Regions from separate parts of the Homo sapiens genome. Here region 1 is linked to region 2. The links are contacts of gene promoters, found by promoter capture Hi-C in human tissues and cell types (Jung and others, 2019). All regions are on one chromosome and are shown on one strand. Each heading gives the region's core, a stretch centred on a gene start or on the middle of the fragment in contact. The rest is flanking DNA. Distances are from core to core; before and after follow the strand shown. Region 1 overlaps SUGP2 (SURP and G-patch domain containing 2). Region 2 holds the start of NR2C2AP (nuclear receptor 2C2 associated protein).

Region 1 (3,697 bases), core at 418-2,917, 200 kb after region 2:
AAAAATTAGCCGGGCATGGTGGCAGGCGCCTGTAGTCCCAGCCACTCAGGAGGCTGAGGCAGGAGAATGGCATGAATCTGGGAGGCAGAGCTTGCAGTGAGCCGAGATCGCGCCACTGCACTCCAGCCTGGGCGACAGAGTGAGACTCCGTCTCAAAAAAAAAAAAAAAAGAAGTTCAAGCTAAGGCCGATTGGGTGTCTTACACTTGTGATCCCAGCAGTTTAGGAGGCCAAAGTGGGCAGATCGCTTGAGTCCAAGAGTTTAAGACCAGCCTGGGCAATAGGCAAAACCCTGTCTCTGCAAAAAATACAAAAATTAGTTGGGCATGGTGGTGCATGCCTGTAGTCCCAGCTACTCTGGAGGCTGAGGTGGAAGGATCATTTGGGCCTGAGAGGTCGTGGCTGCAGTGAGCTGATTGCACCACTGCACCCCAGCTTGGGCGACAGACTGAGAGCCTGTCTCAAAAAAAAAAAAAAAGTTCAAGTTATCCAGGTGCACTGATTCACGCCTGTAATCCCAGTGCTTTGGGAGGCCAAGACAGGGGGATCACTTGAGCCCAGGAGTTTGAGGCCAGCCTGGGCAACATAGTGAGACCTATGTCTCCTCCTGGTCTCCTTAAAAAATAAAACATAAAAACTTACAAGCTTAGTAGACTGGAAGGGTGGTGAAGAGAGTTCACTAATCTGCTAGTAAGCAGAGCGTGGTGTGTGCGGTCAGCACCTCCTACGTGCCAGGTCCCGACTGTCCACCTGGAGGCAGCAGCAAGCAGGGCCAACAGTGAAAGAGAAATGGATGAGGCAGTCCTGGGGATGCTGTGGGCAAAGAGAAGCAGGTCAAAGAGAGGGAGAATAAGGTGGGGTCGAGGGGATGCCGCTGAATTGGGAAAGCCAAGGGAGGTCTCTCTTGCAGATGACGTTGGCACAAGCCTGGAGGAGCTGAGGAGAAACAGTGTAGAGATCTGAGAAGGGCACAGCCTCGGTAGAGAGGCTGGGGCAGCAAGAGGCCTTTGTGGCAGCAGAGGAATCCGGGGGGTGGTCACACAGGACCTCAACAGATGTTAACGCTGTGGCCCTTTCTCAGGGAAGGGAGGGTACCTCTGGGACCTGTGGTGGATGTGGCCACTAGGGTGGAGAGCAGCCTGTGGGCGGGAACCAGGAGGAGGCTCAAACTTAAGACAGTTGGACCAGGGCATGAGGAGCAATGAGAAGGGGAGAAGATGGAGTGGGTGACACCTGCTTGTGGGCTGGGTGTGCAAAAGCCAGGAGTCCAGATGACCCCAGGGTTGTCAGCTTGGGCAGAAGAGGGACAGAACTGCCATTCACTGACCTGGAGCCAGGTTATGGAAAGGGGGCAGGTACACTCCAGATGGCCTGGGGGACACAGTGCTGGGGGCAAGCAGGGTCACCTGGGACACATGTGGAGAGACTTCACCAGTCCTTCATGGTCAGGGAGGAGGGCGGGGAGCCAGGCGAGATCGCTCTGCTGGTGTCAGGCAGTGCCATGTTGCTTCCAACCCCTTCCGAGTGACCTAGGTCAGTCTGACCCCAATTATGGCAGGAAGGAGGGACCTTCCCGAGTCCAGAGCTCATAGTCCTTACTGATGTGCCAGGTTTTAGGCTGAGCTGGCATCTGGTGCCCCTTGGTGTGGCCTGGATAAGGGCACGGCCAGATGAGGGCACAGCAGGACCTTGGTGTCAGGCACAGCTGTACTCTAGCTCAGCCCTGCCACCGAGTAGTTTTGTAACCTTGGCGTGTAACCCCTGAGCCACGGATTTGTCTGTAAAATGGGATGGCCACACTTACCCAGCAGGTAGGAGGTACAGTGAGGATTAAACTGAACGCGGTTCCTGGTGGGTGTCCTGCACATGCTGCTGTCTCCTTGGGGCTCTGCACCTGTCCTCCTGTCTGCCAGTGACTGTGGGTGGAAGGGAGGCCGTGGTGGCTGCAGCTTTCCTCTGCAAACCTCCACCTCGCCCACAGGGCTTGGCTTTCCTCCAGCTGTCCAGGAAACCACCATCATGATTGTTAAACACAGATTTGAACATTCACGAAGAAACTTCCAGGCTGAGCCAAACCCTCTTCCTCCCACTGCACCTCCAAGCAGCCTTCCTGAAAGGGAAAAGAGTACAGACCTGCCCTCTGGGGACCCCTGTGCCCTGCCATGACCAGCCTTTCCCCTTCCTTCCCTACCCGTCATCCCAGGGCCCAGGTCGTGCACAGCTCCCAGAAGGGCCTGACGGATGCCCCGTTTCTCATCTCAGCCGGTGGGTTCTGTCACCTCTTTTCTCCAGGCCACTTTCTCATGGCAAGGGGCCCCCCAGTGTAGCAGGTCCTGTCTGGTGTCCCCTGGTTTGCAGGGGTGTCTCTTCACTGTTTGTGCCCCTCTTCCTGTCCCAGCCCATAGCATAGCTCCTCCCTTCATACCTCCCCTCCTTAACTGCCCTGCAGAGACACTTCTGCCCACACCGCCTCACCAAGACCACCTCATGCCATTATGGAGGGGCCGCCTGCATCCAGTAACTCACGCACACACACAAGATACACACATGTGCACGCATATGCACACACACATGCATACACACACGCACACACACATGCATACACACACACAGCTACTTTATATAATACCCTCGGAGATGCCTCTGAAGAGAACAAAGGGAATTTCCCTCCGCCTTTGAAGGTCCAAGTCTAAGCCTGTTGAAATGAACTGACAATAAGAAGATTAACAGGATAAAAAAAGGTGTGCGGTGGCTTACACCTGTAATCCCGGGACTTTGGAAGGCCAAGGCAGGGGGATCACTTGAGCCCGGGAGTTCAAGACTGCAGTGAGCCATGATGGAGCCACTGCACTCCAGCCTGGGTGACAGAGCAAGATCCTGTCTTGAAACAAAAAAGTTATACATATTTATTCACGTGCATAAGCACAGGAGCCATATAAAACATTATGAAAACTCAAAGAAGGGCCAGGTGGTTGAAGCTGAAATACCTCTTTGTAGGGGAGAGGGCAGATGGGAGGCTGTAGGTAACTTTAGAGGGGAAGCAGATGATTTTAGGAGAGATGAATGGAGGCAGGCATCATCTTGTGAATGATCCTCATTGAGAATTGAATGGGACTAGAGAACAGCCAGTGGTCTGGGCTCTAGGTGTGGTGTTTAATGTTCCATCTCTTCTTGTGTGATAGGAGTTTTCAACTCTGGTTAATGACATTTCAGGGAAGGGATCCAAGGCCCTTGTGTTCTTCTTTGGCAAGTCCAGTTTCTAGGTAGATAGGGAACTTGAAGAAAACAGCTTCCTCCTGTGCTTTGGGAGGGACCTTGAGGCTGCTACTTTAGTCCCACCTGTCAAAGTGCTATAATTCGGGGTATCGCTTTCTTTCTTTCTTTCTTTTTTTTTTTTTTTTTTTTTGAGACGGAGTCTCCCTTTGTCGCCAAGGCTGGAGTGCAATGGCATGATCTCAACTCACTGCAACCTCTGCCTCCCAGGTTCAAGGGATTCTCCTGCCTCAGCCTCCAGAGTAGCTGGGATTACAGGGGCGTGCCACCACACCTGGCTAATTTTTGTATTTTTAGTAGAGATGGGGATTCACCATGTTGGTCAGGCTGGTCTCAAACTCCTGACATCGTGATCCACGCACCTTGGCCTCCCAAAGTGCTGGGACTACAGGCGTGAGCCACCGCGCCCAGCCTTAGGGTATCCG
Region 2 (3,757 bases), core at 1,120-3,619:
GGCTCTCCAGTGTCCTTGCTCTTTCTAACTTCCTTCCGGGGGTGAGGTTGGGGGCACAGTTTCCTGTCACCTCCAGCCCCAGCCCTGAGACCAGCGAAGTTGGGTTTGGATGGCACCAGACTCTGTCTAAATGCGGAAAGCCCTGGCAGGCAGGGGCTGAAGAGACAGGCCTTCTGCTGGTGACCCAGTTTCCCCGCCAGCCCCCACCCCTGCTGCCTGGGGTGGGTTTGAGCAGACACTAGTAGGATGCCGGAAGGACCATTCCTCCAGCCCTTGAAGAAAGGGGCTGGCTGCCAGACCATTCAGCTAAAGCCAGGAACAACAGCCTCTTGCCAGTGGCTGCTCTGTCTTGGAACCCTCCATTCATGCAGAACGGATGGTGTCCTGCCCTTTCTCCAACACCTTCCATGACTGCTCCGGGCCCAGCAGGATGTGGCTCCACATATTTTATTCAAATTCATGGTCTTTCACCCAACTAGGCCTTGGCTTATGCTAAGCTCCCTGCCTGGGACACCCTCCCCACTCCAGATTTTCTCACCCTTGTGAATTCCTGGCGCCTGACCCCCTATTAAGGTGCAGTTCTAACATCCCCTTTCCCAGGAAGCCCTTCCTCCAGGTAGAGCCCCTGCTCCTCCGGCCCCATCTCTCCCTTGGGGCTAGGAGTGTCTATGTCTACCTCTGTCTTGCCCAGATCAGGGGCTCCTCTGGGACAGGCCTGGAGCTGAGGCCTCTTGCTGTCCCCAGCATCATCCAGCAGAAGGCTGGACATGACAGTGTGACAGTAGAGCTTGCAGGAGGTGTCTAGTGAATCAGTGAACCAAATCTTCAGCTTGGTATCTGAGGCTTTGTTTGGCAAACTCCTGTTCATGCTTCAAAACCCACCTCACAGCCTGGGTGCGGTGGCTCACACCTGTAATCCCAGCACTTTGGGAGGCCAAGGCGGGCAGATCACGAGGTTAGGAGTTCGAGACCAGCCTGGCCAAGATAGCGAAACCCCATCTCTACTAAAAATACAAAAATTAGCCAGGCATAGTGGTGCGCACCTGTAGTCACAGCTACTCAGGAGGCTGAGGCAGGGGAATCACTTGAACCTGGGAGGCGGAGGTTGCAGTGAGCTGAGATCACACCACTGCACTCCAGCCTGGGCAACAAAGTGAGGCTCCGTCTCGAAACAAAACAAAACAGAAACAACAAAAAACACCCGACCTCGCATGCTCCCTCCTCCAAGAAGCCTTCCTTGACGTCCCAGCAGCATTTTCTGGGAAAGACAAACTTGGAGGCCAGGGCTCCTCTGTCCCAACAAGAACAAAAAGGGTTGATGAGGACTTCAGATACTCCCAACATCGTGGCCTTTTCCACAACTCTGCCTTTGGCCTCCGGGAGGCAGTGAAGTTCGGGGATTCCCAGGCTGCATTTAGTGGTTAGGGTAGAGTAGGTTAGAGTAGGTTAGGGTAGCCGTTAGGGTAGAGTAGGTTAGAGTAGGAAGAAAGACATTGTCATAGGAAGTCTCTCTGGCCGGGCGCGGTGGCTTACGCCTGTAATCCCAGCACTTTGGGAGGCTGAGGTGGGCGGATCACTTGAGCCCAGGAGTTCGAGACCAATCTGGGCAACATGGCGAAACCTCATCTCTACCAAAAAACAAACAAACAAACAAACAAACAAAATAGCCTGCCGTGGTGGCGCGCGCCTACTAGTTCCAACTATTCGGGAAGCTGGGTAGGAGGATTGCTGGAGCCTGGGAGGCAGAGGTCGCAGAGAGCCGCGATCCCACCATTGTACTCCAGCCTGGGTGACAGTGAGACCCCACTTCAAAAAAAAAAAAAAAAAAAGGCCGGGCGCGGTGGCTCAAGCCTGTAATCCCAGCACTTTGGAAGCCCCGGCGGCTGGATCACGAGGTCAGGAGATCAAGACCATTCTGGCTAACACGGTGAAACCCCGTCTCTACTAAATATACGAAAAATTAGCCGGGCGTGGTGGCGGGCGCCTGTATTCCCAGCTACTTGGGAGGCTGAGGCAGGAGAACGGCGTGAACCCAGGGGGCGGAGCTTGCAGTGAGCGGAGATCGTGCCACTGCACTCCAGCCTGGGCGACAGTGAGACTCCGCCTCAAAAAAAAAAAAAAAAAAAGGAAGTCTTTCGGATTCCAAAATCAGTCAAAATCAGTGCTCTACACCTTCGGGCGCCGAGGGACAGCGCCCCGTGCGCGCAGCCAGCCTTTTCCCTACAGCTTCAAGGGAACCAAGGTAAATTCAATCATCGAACCCGGGCCCTTTAAGAAGCGAGCATGAAGGGGCGGGGTCGAACCAAACCCCACCTCTGGAGCGTCCGCGGTCGGCGCCTGAATTACAACACGCATGCGCCAAGCCCACGCGGTTCCGGGTCCCAAGATTTGGCTCCAAGAGCTATTCGCAGAGAAACAGCCTCGCACAAAAAGCCACCGCCCCCGAAACCCGCGGGAAATCTGTTTCCTGTGAAAGGCCTGGCCTCCGGGCATTGGCGGTTTCCCTGATCCTCTCTCCCAAATTTTCCGGCAGGGGATTGATCGAGGCGACATTTAGGACTGGGGTGGGCGAGGGAGTGGCGGTTCTCGTCCCAAGTTACAGGTGAGGACGTTCAGGCCAAGGCGTAGCCAAGATCGCGCCGCCCTGTAGCTTGAGGAGGCGCCGGGATTCGAACCAAGGCTGTGCCCAATCCTAAGCCCTGCGAGGTCTTGTGGAACCGACATGACCCACTCTTTGGTTTGTCCAGAGACAGTGAGCAGGTAAGAGTCTGTGGGGACAGGCAGTGGCGAGGCCCTAAGCCTGGGGTCGAGCCCTCAGTGGACAGATCTGGGGGTCAGGCCCTCCGCGGAGCTGAGAGCTGGTCTCAGCCCCTCTCTTCGCCTTGATCCTGGTGCCTCCAGGGTGAGTTCAGTGCTGAATCGCAACACTCGGCAGTTTGGAAAAAAACATCTTTTCGACCAGGATGAGGAGACATGTTGGAACTCAGACCAGGTGAGGCGCCTCCCTCGACCCTCCATCTCTAGGGTGATTCAGATTCAGATCTCATGCCTTGAGAACGTCAGGGGGCCCTCATGGGTGGCCAGGAAAGGAACATGTGCCGAATTTCCTTCTTCCCCTCCATTCCAAGAACTATGTGAATGAGACAGGCATAGCAGGGCTCTGTGCCTGCAGTGAGCTTGCGCCTCAGTTTCCCTGTCTGCTTCCAGGGCCCCTCCCAGTGGGTGACGCTGGAGTTTCCCCAGCTCATCCGTGTCTCCCAGCTGCAGATCCAGTTTCAGGGTGGCTTCTCCAGTCGCCGGGGCTGCCTGGAAGGTACTAGAAGGCCCTGGGTGGCAGGGGTTCCAGGGGTCACCCCAGACACTCATTGCCTTTCTCTGCTGAAGGTTCACAGGGCACTCAGGCTCTCCACAAGATTGTAGATTTCTACCCTGAGGACAACAACTCGCTTCAGATATCCTGCCCCTGCTTCTGGGGTGGGTGGTCTGTGCCTCTGGAAGCTTTGGACTCACCCAAACCCGAATGGGAACCCTGATGTGTGATCTTGAACACGTGACCTCTAGGACTCCACTTTTTCTGTAAAATGGTGCTGATGACCACCTGTTCTGTGTGAGAGGCTTAGAGGGACCTGCAGCTTCCCCAGGTTGCCCACATCGGTGGAGTGTGAGCTGGGTCTGGAAGGGGTGGGGGCCTGCGGGTGGGAAACCAGAAATCACCAGTTTCCCTTGACTGCCCACGCTCACACTTTCCCCATACCAG

The links. The method cuts DNA at HindIII sites, captures the fragments that hold promoters and counts their contacts. A contact is called where the count stands out against the background at its distance.
Region 1: a fragment that was not itself captured here is called in contact with the fragment with the promoter of NR2C2AP in region 2 in 1 of the 25 tissues and cell types used here (dorsolateral prefrontal cortex).

Annotation. Positions count from the first base shown.
Region 1 is chr19:18,997,491-19,001,187 of GRCh38, reverse strand. All of the region lies in intron 8 of SUGP2 (SURP and G-patch domain containing 2), which reads left to right. Among named protein-coding and RNA genes, the nearest start is that of SUGP2, 34 kb to the left of the region's middle. The HindIII fragment of the contact is 7,801 bases long and covers 1-3,697 here.
Region 2 is chr19:19,202,026-19,205,782 of GRCh38, reverse strand. It overlaps NR2C2AP (nuclear receptor 2C2 associated protein), which reads left to right and starts at 2,369. Exons shown (of 5, transcript NM_176880.6): 1 at 2,369-2,760; 2 at 2,902-2,992; 3 at 3,208-3,313; 4 at 3,385-3,452; 5 at 3,742-3,757. The coding sequence starts at 2,723. RefSeq lists an enhancer at 2,169-2,463 and a silencer at 3,127-3,393. The HindIII fragment of the contact is 14,823 bases long and covers 1-3,757 here.